Linked DNA regions of Homo sapiens: region 1 is linked to region 2. The links are contacts of gene promoters, found by promoter capture Hi-C in human tissues and cell types (Jung and others, 2019). All regions are on one chromosome and are shown on one strand. The core of a region is centred on a gene start or on the middle of the fragment in contact, and the rest is flanking DNA. Distances in the headings are between cores, read along the strand shown. Region 1 overlaps S100A10 (S100 calcium binding protein A10). Region 2 holds the start of CGN (cingulin).

Region 1 (5,398 bases), core at 139-2,638, 480 kb after region 2:
GATTACAGGCGTCCGCCACCATGTCCGGCTAATTTTTTGTATTTTTAGTAGAGGCGGAGTTTTGCCATGTTGAGCAGGCTGGTCTCAAACTCCTGACTTCAGGTGATCCGCCCACCTCGGCCTCCCAAAGTGCTGGGATTACAGGCCACTGCGCCCGGCCCAGTGTTCCTCTTTTTAACTGACAAAGCACCTACTGAAAGAACAGATAGTTCATAATTTCTCTTGGCACTAGTAAATGGGATTCTTAGATATGGCTGATACTAACAATCCACACAGTCAAGTCTGGTAAATACGAAAACTTCACCCTTCTAAGCTTAAAGTGGTAACTTGGTTCAGTGTGATTCTAGGGTTTAGAAATCTGCTTACAAATGAATTTATCTGCTGGGTATATATGTATTCTTTTTTTTTTTTTTTTTTTGAGACGGAGTCTTGCTCTGTTGCCCAGGCTGGAGTGCAGTGGCGCCATCTCGGCTCGCTGCAAGCTCCGCTTCCTGGATTCACGGCATTCTCCTGCCTCAGCCTCCCGAGTAGCTGGGACTACAGGTGCCCGCCACCGCGCCCGACTAATTTTTTTGTATTTTTAGTAGAGATGGGGTTTCACCGTGGTCTCGATCTCCTGACCTCGTGATCCGCCCACCTCGGCCTCCCAAAGTGCTGGGATTACAGGCGTGAGCCACTATGCCCGGCCTATATGTATTCTTTACTAAAGCTCTGAACTTGTTATTTACTGCAATAAAGACAGTTGCATCTCTGGCAGTAAAATACAGTTGCTCTACCCAAACAGAAAACTACTCAAAGTCCATTGTCTAGTTCACTTGAGAAGCAACAAGTAATACTATAACCTAACTCATTTGAGGGCCTCCTATGTTTTTAGTGACATTAGACAGATGAGCTGCTCTCACAGTCTGGGGTACAGTGGGAAAGCAAGAGCTTTCATCATGAAGCGTTTATAAGAAAGGAAAGGAAACATGTCAGATCATTACATTTGGGTATAATGAACTAGGGGTATATGTCTCACAAGACCCAGTACGTGGTACTTAATAGAACCTCAGTGAATTTTGGCTTAATTGGAAGGAATCATTTGGCGAGAACAGATAAGCTTTGGCTAATATCACCTAAAATCACTACTGGATAGGAAACAGGTGAACGTGAATGGAGACTGTAATATAGCACTAAAAAATAAAAATAAATAATCACAAGAATAGGCTTTGAGCTTAGATTGAAGGGCTGGCAAATTCCTCTGCTGAAGAGCTCTAATGGGAACCTGAGACATGCTTTGGTCTGGTTCCTATCTCTGAGAGATGCCTGTTCAACACTGATTCTCAAATGCTATCTTTTACAGAGGAGAAGGTGGAGTGGGTAAACATGAGGATTGAGCAATTAACACTTAAGAATTGTAAATTCTACCCCTTAATCTCCAGAAAAGTATGGGAACCAGCAGGCCAAAGAATGCTATAAATCAGAATCTGGCATGAGTCATCTGAAAGGCAGTTAGTTATCTTGGAGAGAGCTGCAAATTAATGCTTCAAGGTCTGCTGTGAGATGAATTCCAGGGGAACCACACCCTTTTCCTTCTCTTCTGACACAGCTCAGATCTGGCTCATCCCCCATCCCTCATATGGGTTTCAGATGGCAGTGGGCTTACAGAGAGTCTGCCTTGCCTGGACTGGTACTCCAAGTCCAGCAATTTAAGAGAACTGAACTGGGCGAGTCACCTCTGGGAGAAGGACGTGGGATCCCACCCCAGTTCTTAAATAACTCAGGAAAGGAGTCAGACACCACAGAGGTTTAAAAATACCTGTGCTCAAGTTCAGAGCAGCAGAGCACTTCAGGATCAATTCCCAAAGATCCCAGAAATTGGAACTGGGTGGGGTACCTAGTTTACTTTTTTCAGATGACAGGACAGAAGGAAAGTGCAGAATTAAGAAAGGGAATGCAGCAGGGTAAGGACCTCTAAATTTTAAAAAGGCTAATTTTAGGAGGTTCTAAGAAATACAAGTTGTCAGCTGAGGAAATCCTGGCCACCCTTGAGTATCTTCTTCAGGAGAGCAAGGTGAGTCTACCTCACACTGTGTGAGTGCTTAGGTCTGAAGTCACTCAGTCGCATGCCTCTCTTGCCCACAGCCATTACGAAGTGACGGAGCTTCCTTCTCTGAAGTTACATCCTTCTCCCACTTGGTCTTCCCCTCCCCTCCTCCCCCAGCGGTTTTATTCAGTGGATGGATTGTGAATATTGCAGCCAGCTGACTCCCTGTGTGTCCAGTAGGCCTTCTGCAATAAGGATGCAGAGGAGGGAGTAGCCAGGAGGTGAAAATAGCATTGAAAATCAGTGGAGAAGCCCTTGTCTCCTCAGCAACCAGTACCCCAAAGGGCACTGACCAGGGCCACAGCAAGGAACTCTGTTTTGGGGAAGGAGTTGCACACTGGCTTTAAAATAAGACAAAGGAAAGGGGGAAATGTTGTGATTAAAACTCTGTTCTCTTGGCTAGAGGATGAATCATGTAACTCTTGTCTGAGTGCAGCCAATGGTTGCCCAACTGAGTCAGCCCTGCCTGGCCCTCCGTTCTTGGGTGGGGCTTGCCTGGGCAGGGCTGTCTGCAGCACTGCTAGCTGCCAAAACTGAAGTTCTTCAGGGACTTCAATCTGGCATTTCCACCCTCACGTAGCCACTCTGCAAGCTCTATTCCTGGACAGATGTGGGCTTCCTGCATCCTGGTTAGACACATTTTGACAGGAGGGCCTTGGGGCTGGGGCTGAGGGGCTGCAGTGTCCTCTCTATCCCCAATAACGTACTCTTGCACCTGAAACATTCAATTTCATTTAATTGTTTACTTGTCTGCCTGAGATTTAAGCTTCTCTTGATTAAGAACTACAAATTATTCTGCTTTTATTCATGGAGCACTATATAACTGTTATGTGCATAAATGAACCACACAATCCCTTGGGCAGTAGCTGAGGTGCAGGTGTGATTACCCAGGACTAGGCTGAAAGCCTTGTAGCTCAGAGCTCAGGAGGACGATGTGAGAGCTGGGAAGGGCCAGGAAAGGGGCCCCAAAAGTGTTCAACTATGAACGGAACAGTAGATAGAGTACACAGGAGTGCACATTCCATACGCAAAAGGAAAAATATGTGTCCTGCTAAACAGGTCTAGTCAGAATGACATGACTGTGCTCCTTCTCTTCTAACACTTGCTATTTTCTCGTGTTTCATTCATCCCATCTTCTACTTTTTGCTTTTCTAGTGCTGCTATCTCACTGCTGAGCTCCACAGGATAATAACAGCCTTGCTGTCCACTCACCTTTTATTGAAGTATTCTAATCTGATGCCTATACATGCCCTCTACATGTTTGTCTGAGCAACAGGTCTTAAGAAGGGAGGCGGAGACATCTTTCTCTGCATAGTTTTCTCTATGGAAAACAATTCTGGACTCCACAAATTTAGTTACCTTAGGAGGAATTCAATTTTCCATTTTTGGTTCTCCCTCCCTGAGCACCTACTTTGAATGTCCCAGACATGGTGTTAGGCATGAGGGTGTTCACACACACATACACACATGCACACACACACAAAGCTCTCCATGGTGCTTGCCTTTGAGGAGTTCACCAGCTAATGGAATACTATTAAAGCATTTGGCCTGAATTCTAGTTATTTGTGTTTCTGTTTCTTTCCTCACTAGGTTGCAGGTTTTTTGAGCAGGGTCCCAATAGCCAGTGCCCCAGCCCTCATAGAGCCTGCTCGATGAATTGTTAAGAAATTGATAATGATGTATTTTGGTTGTCCTGCGAGTAGCAGACAAGCAGGAGTCCTCCTCAGAAAAGTGTCTGCTCCTGAAAAATCTCAAATGTTTGCTTTGGACCTATGCCCAGATCCCGGCTGCAGTTTCAAAGAGGACACTTCTGCAGAGTGAGTCGGACTTGCTTTGCTCCTCTGTGTCTTGTCCATACCCTAGTTTTCTTACAGCCCACCCAGAAAATAAACGGCAGGGTGTCAGTAAAAACAAACATCTGTTATTTAAAATATGTTTGAGGTTTCCTTCCTTTTGCTTTAGAAATTTTGGAGTTTTTAAAATTGAACCCAGAAGGCATTCTTAAATTTGATCTCTGAAGGGAATTCAGAAAAAATGAGTTGAAGCAATGGATCTGGATCCAGGCTGTCTCTCTCACCTCTCACCAACTAAAACTTGCCCACTAAAGAACTGGGCAGCAAAGGAACGTTTCAGATGCAATTCAATAGGAAGAAAGAACTTGGAAGAAACCTCCTTCAATCTAACCAACTACATCAATTTTTCCTTAAAGAATGCTTAGGCATCAGCCTAATCAGCCAACATAGCTACTGTCAAAACTGCTTTTAGTTAAATCCTTTGGTAGGATGGGTGGTATTTATTTAGTAAAGGGATAGAAAGTGCTGAAAATTGTTTAAAAGAAGTACATTCTTTCTTTTTGCTTTTGATGTGGATTCCTAAATTTGTTGAGTCCCCAGAAAAATGAGAAACTTAAGATGTTAAAATTTTAGTCCAGCTTTCTCAGCACTTTGAGTGCTAATTTATACATTATAATCCTGAAAGAATTCCATTGTTTCTCTCAACTTTACGCTTTAAAAGACTGGACTGTGTCCAAGGGTATACCAAGTGGGTTGTGCTCTACAAAAGTCACATTTTTTGAACTGTCAGTAGAAAGCAGGGAGGCACACAGTCTCAGCTCCACCCTGACCTCACTGGAGTGGCTGCTTAGGAGGCTGGCCAGCACACGGGAGGAAAGGGGCCTATATGATGTGTCGGAGAAAAGCTAGGAAGAGCATCACCCAGAAAGCAGGGTAAGACCCAAAAATTGCTTCATGCCCAGTAGACCAAAAAAATTGTAAGAACCTAGATAAGAAACTCCAAATGGTGGATCAAGGGCCACAGTGAAGAAACTATCCTCTGGCTGTGAAGGAACAAATACACCATTTGGAAGGGATGATTAAAGAGAAACTGGATAGGAATCTGTGGGGGCAGGGCCGATGAAGAAACTTCCAATAAGTTATATGAACTCATTCCCACTCCAACCCCTGGCATTATCTTTTGCAATTTGCTGAAACATGTTGGAGGCAAAGATCACCGACTGGGTGTTTCCATGAGCCTGGCCTCACCTAAAACGCACAACATAAAACTCCATTCCTGGAGACTGAAACTCAAGCTTCTGGGGAAAAATATCCGCAACAACTGCAAACCTCTTAGCGGGAAAAGCTACCTCCCAAGTAAGGCTGAGGCAGGCTGCCAGGCGCATACTGGCCGATAACGAAAAGCGGTCTCGCCAAGGCCCTGCAGATCTAATTACTGCCCTCACCGGCAGTTCAGTCGAGAAACCTCTCCTGCAGACTGGCAGCCAGACCAGGTGTGACTCACTTCCTCTTGGAAAAT
Region 2 (5,283 bases), core at 17-2,516:
TTGATGGCCCTAATCCTTATATACAGCTTGCTCTGGAATGCAGAGACTTTGCATCCCAGCTGAGGAGCTGGTAAGTGGACTTTACTCTGTAGGACCCACACCTAGCTTTTGAAGGCTTGGGGAGGGGCGGAAACCAGCTCCCGAGAATACACCGGAATCTGTGCTGCATCGAAGATTCCTCTTCTACTCCAATAGATACAGGGTAAATATTTGTTGTAACTAAATGAGAACAAAATCCGGAGCCCAGCAACGTAAACGAAGTCAATCTCTTTTTTACATATCTCAACGGTTAACAGCTAGGATGCCAGCTTTAATGTTGTTTTAACTGCAGCTGGTATGAGCGGTCCTGCAGTTTGCAGAGCCCCTAGTTTTTACTCTTTTCTAGGAACTGGGATCAGCATCCCTACTTTTTGAGAGGCTAACTCTGAGGTAAATTTACAACTGAGTCCCTTTCAGTTTAGAACGAAGGTCATTCCTATTTTGGTAAATTTGCGTCCCCGGTTTCCATTCATTCAGTCAACAAATATTTATTAAGCATGTAGTATGTACCAGTCCCTGTTGTAGGCGTTTGGGGTGAAGCAAGGCACAGAACAAGAGATCCTTGCTCTGGTGAAGCTTATCGTAGGACGGGAGGCAAAATGATGAAAATGATTTTTAAAATTATGTTATTAACTAGAAGGTGATAAATATTACATAGAAAAAGATGTCAGGCTGCAAAATGATTGCGGAGGCCACAAGATAAAAGAGAATCCAAGATCAGGGTTCTGGTTCGGGTCAGGGAAAAGGGAGACGAGCTGAGGTGCAGGAGGCTCTGACGTCGGGGGACAACGGAGATATTTTCTGCAGAAAGTGACGAAAGAGCATTCTGGTTCCTGCAGAGGTAGGTGAAGGACAGAAAGGGCCCTGGCCGGCGATTCCCTTGGAGTAAACGGGAGGCAGGAGGCTGTTTTCTAGCAGAGCCCAGAAGATGCTCTGGCCGACGGCTCCCGGGATCTTGGCCGGCGGTCACTCGCGACCATCCGCGACGCCCCCAAAATGGCCTCCGCGCCCCTCGCCGCCCCGCCCCGACGCTCCGCAGCCCGTGGGTCCACGTGACCTGGCCCGCCCTTCGCGGCTGGAGACCCCGGGTCCCGGTCCCCGCACCGGAGGCCCCGCCCCCTACGGGAAGCGGACCAACCGGAGCGGGGAAAGGCGGGGCGGGCACTGACGGCCCGCGGGGGTGGAGCTCCGCAGCGGAGTAACAGGTTGGTGGGAGGGAGAGAAAGGAGGGAGCTCCGAGGACGAGGGGGAGGGCCGGAGCTGCGCGTGCTGCTTTGCCCGAGCCCGAGCCCGAGCCCGAGCCCGAGCCCGAGCCCGAGCCCGAACGCAAGCCTGGGAGCGCGGAGCCCGGCTAGGGTGAGTGGACCCGGTGCGGGCCAGGGCACCCGAGAGGAAAGCGAGCCTTCAGGGGTACCTTTGAGGGGCAGGCATCGAGGCGGTGTGAGATGCCCCTCTCCAGGGCACCGGTGCCGAGTGGGAGACGGGAGGAGGGGAGATTGGGGCGGGGTGGGGTACTGATTAAGAGCCGACCCCTACCCTGAGGTGCCAGATGCAGGTGGCTAGGAAGGTGCCAGGCGAGGGGCACCTGGGGCGAAGGCTGTTCCCAGCGCATGAAAGCGTTTCAGCGCCAGATGTCTCTGGAGGTCAGACGCCAGCCCTAGGGGCAGAATTTCTCTTGGAGACAGCGGTGGCGCGGGGAAGGAGTTAGTTCCAGCTGAGTCGGGAACTGCTGCTGCCTGAGGTGCAGACTCGCCAGGGGAGGGCATCTGCAGGTGCTGCTCGCCTGAGGGTCTTTCCTGCGTCCTGCGGTCTCAGCTGGCCGTTGTCAGCACCCTGGTGGCTTTGAGATGACTCTGAGGTGTGGGATTTTTTCCCCAGCCCTTCACCTCCGGCCGAAGGCAGTTGCGAATCAGAGACACTGAGGGGCAGATGAGAGGGCACCCTCATCTCTTCACCAGGTGTACAACCATTAGGCTTTCACTTTGTGTCCTTTGCTTTCGTGCCAGGGAGAATCGTTCCTTCTTCCTCTTGAGAGAGAGAGAGAGTACTCCCCAAGAGAGGGATATGAGGAAGCAAAGAGCCCTGCCTGGTCCTGCAAAATATTGATAAATATTAATACTTATTTCTCAGGAGGCCCCTTTCTGGGGGCGGATGTCAAACCCTTTCTCCAAGTACCCACATATTTTTTCTGTGGTTCTAGATGGGGACCATTGGATGAGGTTTGGGAGCCCAACCAATTTCCTTGATGTCTGGAGGAATCCCCATTACTCCCTGAACGCCCTCCAGGCATCCCTGACTCCTGAACTGCGGTGGCTGTCAGAATGGCAGCAGGCACTATTGGGGCAGGAAATAGGCAGGACTCATCAGGAGACCACGAGACTAGGGAAATTACAACTCCAAATCCCCAGGACAGATGAAAGGTGCACCTTGGGGCCCAGACAAGACTGGAGGCAAATTTCTTTGCCTTAGGCAGGTAAAGGAACTAGAGTCAACCTTAGCTTGGCCCCTTTGAAGCCCTGCCTGAGGAAGGTTGTTGTAATTGGGAAATAATTAGCAACCGCTATGTTTGTAGATGGGCTGCCTACACATGCCTATGCATCTCTTCTTTCATCCTGGATGTTTGGGAGTCTGGGGGCTGGCTCTGGGGGACTGCTAATCCAGAGATTTGCCCGACTCTAAGAGGATTCTGGCTTCCTAGAACCCTTCCTGTGTTTCCCAGGCTGGCCTGCATGCCATTCCCCTTGTGGGAGGTGATGGGGGTGTAGGGCTCTTCTCTTTGTGCCAGGGAGGGGCGGACTGAGGACCAGGGAGGTGGCCAAAGCAAGTGTGGGATCAGGAATGCAACTTTGGGAACCTCAAAGGGAGGGGTGGAGGGAGACAAAGTCTCCCTGTCACATACTGGCCTGTCACCAGGTTCCTGTTCATCTGCTCCTCCTGCCTGTTCCCTCCCTGCCCTCTGTCCTCTCCTTCAGAGCTTTGGCTTTGCCATCAAGGCTGGAGAGCCCCTGCCTGTGGTCTTGCCCCTCTGCCTCCTCCGTGGTGTGGAATTTCTCTGGTCTGCTTTACAAGCTGCCAGTGTAGTTTCCCCGGCCCTCCCCTTCCCCTTGCCTCTCAAACCAGTCCAGCCAGTTTGCAGGGGCCCAGTTCCTCATTGTGTTTTTTTCCCTACTGGCCAAGCAGCTGTAGCCTGGCTCTCAGGTTTCTGCTCTTTCAGCGGACCTGGGCAGGAGTCCACTTGGGGGATTCTTTTTGGATCCACGGGGAACCTTCTTATCTCTAACTATGAGAAAAAGGGTGCCAAATCATCAAGGTCACTGAGCTGTCCTTTTCTATTTCGACCATTTGCTTTCCTTGTTTCCTCTGAGGGGATTCTAATCTCTATACCTCAAGTTCTCCCGTTTTCTAAATCTGCCAATTATTTAGCATCAAGCATATTGCCTGGCCCTATGTGAATCAGTCCTTCCTCCACACACCCGAAACCACCCCACCCCCACTTCCTGCCAGAAGTCCAGATACCCTGTCACTCCTAGTTGGAAACCAGATGCATATGGCTGGGCCAGAGGTGATGGAATTGGGGCAGGGCAGGCTAATGAGTAACTCAGGGAGAAGTGGCTGTCTGGTACAGGTGTAGAGTGTTCTCCCACTCCTTGCAGGCAGGAAAGGCAGAAGCAGACAGATGCACCTGAATCAACTTGTGGTCTGGTCTCTTCCTGGAGTACAGTTGGTGAGGAGAGCCCTGGACATGTGATAGGGGAGAGAAAAGTAGGGTCAGGCATTGGTGAGGGCGCAGGCCCTGGACTCCATGTTGCCTGGCCCTTGATCACTGTTTACCTGCCTGTCTCTGGGGCTTACGCAAGGCCTCAGAGCTGCCCTGCTGCCTTGGTCCCGCCCCACTGTCCTCTGTAACCAAAGGCGGGTAGGTTTCGGGTTTTCCATGTTGAATCATTTAGAGCCCTGCTTTCTGACCCACCCCAAAGATCCCTTCAGCCCTCCTGGCCCCTGATCCACATGTCCTTGGACTGAAGGTGATTGAGGTTAGGGAGTTAACCTAACCTGGGACCTGGGGGAGTGTTCAACACTGCCTCTGAATAATTTAGTGCTGTTGCTCAAGGGTCTGTGCCCTCTGCTGGGCCTAGGCTGGGAACTCCTTGACCTGGATCTGGAAGATCAGTAGATGTACTGACAGGGTAGACTGCATCATGAATAAATCATATGGCTTCTGAGAGCTGGCAATCTAGGCACTTCTGGTTCTAAGATCATGACTACATAGGGCAGCAAGTCTGGACCAGGAGGAGGTCCTGTTGCTAAGAGGTCCTGTTACTGAGGCAAAGTAGATTTGTCCTGGGCAAATCTCCCCACTGCTGTGCAAGTGGGCTTTAGTTCAGGATACAGCCTTTAACAAATATTTGTTGACATCTACCACGTGTCCAAACACCTGGGGACACAGTGGTTAGCTGCTAGCCATGGTCTTTGCCCTCCAGGAGCTTATTATCTCGTAGGGGAGACAGACAGGAAATAATTACTCCAATAAATGTATAAATATAAACTGGAGTAAACCTGCTGAAGGACAACTATAGAGCGTATAACGTGGATCTGACCTGGTTTGTGGGAGGCTGATTTGTGAGAACTGACCTTGTTTGTGGGAGTGGTGGTCAGGGAAGGCTTCTCTGAAGAAGTGACATCTTTCTATGAACCAGGTGAAGCCAAAAGTGCCTGTTGGACAAAGTAGCATGTGTGAAGGATGATATTTGTTGTCAGCTTTGTGATAGTCACATGCTAAATGTTTTCATGTTTAATATCTTGTTTTTCTCTCCTTTTTATTAAATTAGAACCCAAGTTCAATAAAGTACAAACATCTTTTTTTTTTTTTTTGAGATGGAGTCCTGCTCTGTGACCCAGGCTGGCGGATCTCGGCTCACTGCAGCCTGTGCCTCTCAGGTTTAAGCAATTCTCCTGCCTCGGCCTCCCCAGTAGCTGGGATTCCAGGCGTGCACCACCACGCACAGCTAATTTTTGTATTTTTAGTAGACGTGGGGTTTCACCATGTTGGCCGGGCTGTTATTGAACTTCTGACTTCAGGTGATCTGCCTATCTCAGCCTCCCAAAGTGTTGGGATTACAGGCATGAGCCACTGCGCCTGGCCTAAATAAAGTACAAAGATCTTAAGGGTATAACTTGGTACTTTTTTATCATTGTATATGCCCATATAATTATTTATTATCTCATTCTCACAGATAATAACCT

Evidence for each region. The method cuts DNA at HindIII sites, captures the fragments that hold promoters and counts their contacts. A contact is called where the count stands out against the background at its distance.
Region 1: a contact is called between a fragment that was not itself captured here and the fragment with the promoter of CGN in region 2, in 2 of the 25 tissues and cell types used here (H1 embryonic stem cells and IMR-90 fibroblasts).

The regions. Positions count from the first base shown.
Region 1 is chr1:151,987,140-151,992,537 of GRCh38, forward strand. All of the region lies in intron 1 of S100A10 (S100 calcium binding protein A10), which reads right to left. Among named protein-coding and RNA genes, the nearest start is that of S100A10, 4.0 kb to the right of the region's middle. RefSeq lists an enhancer at 4,760-5,398. The HindIII fragment of the contact is 5,250 bases long and covers 1-4,013 here.
Region 2 is chr1:151,510,121-151,515,403 of GRCh38, forward strand. It overlaps CGN (cingulin), which reads left to right and starts at 1,267. Exons shown (of 21, transcript NM_020770.3): 1 at 1,267-1,395. RefSeq lists enhancers at 344-920, 921-1,496, 1,648-1,787, 2,650-3,226, 3,227-3,802 and a silencer at 918-1,317. The HindIII fragment of the contact is 12,501 bases long and covers 1-5,283 here.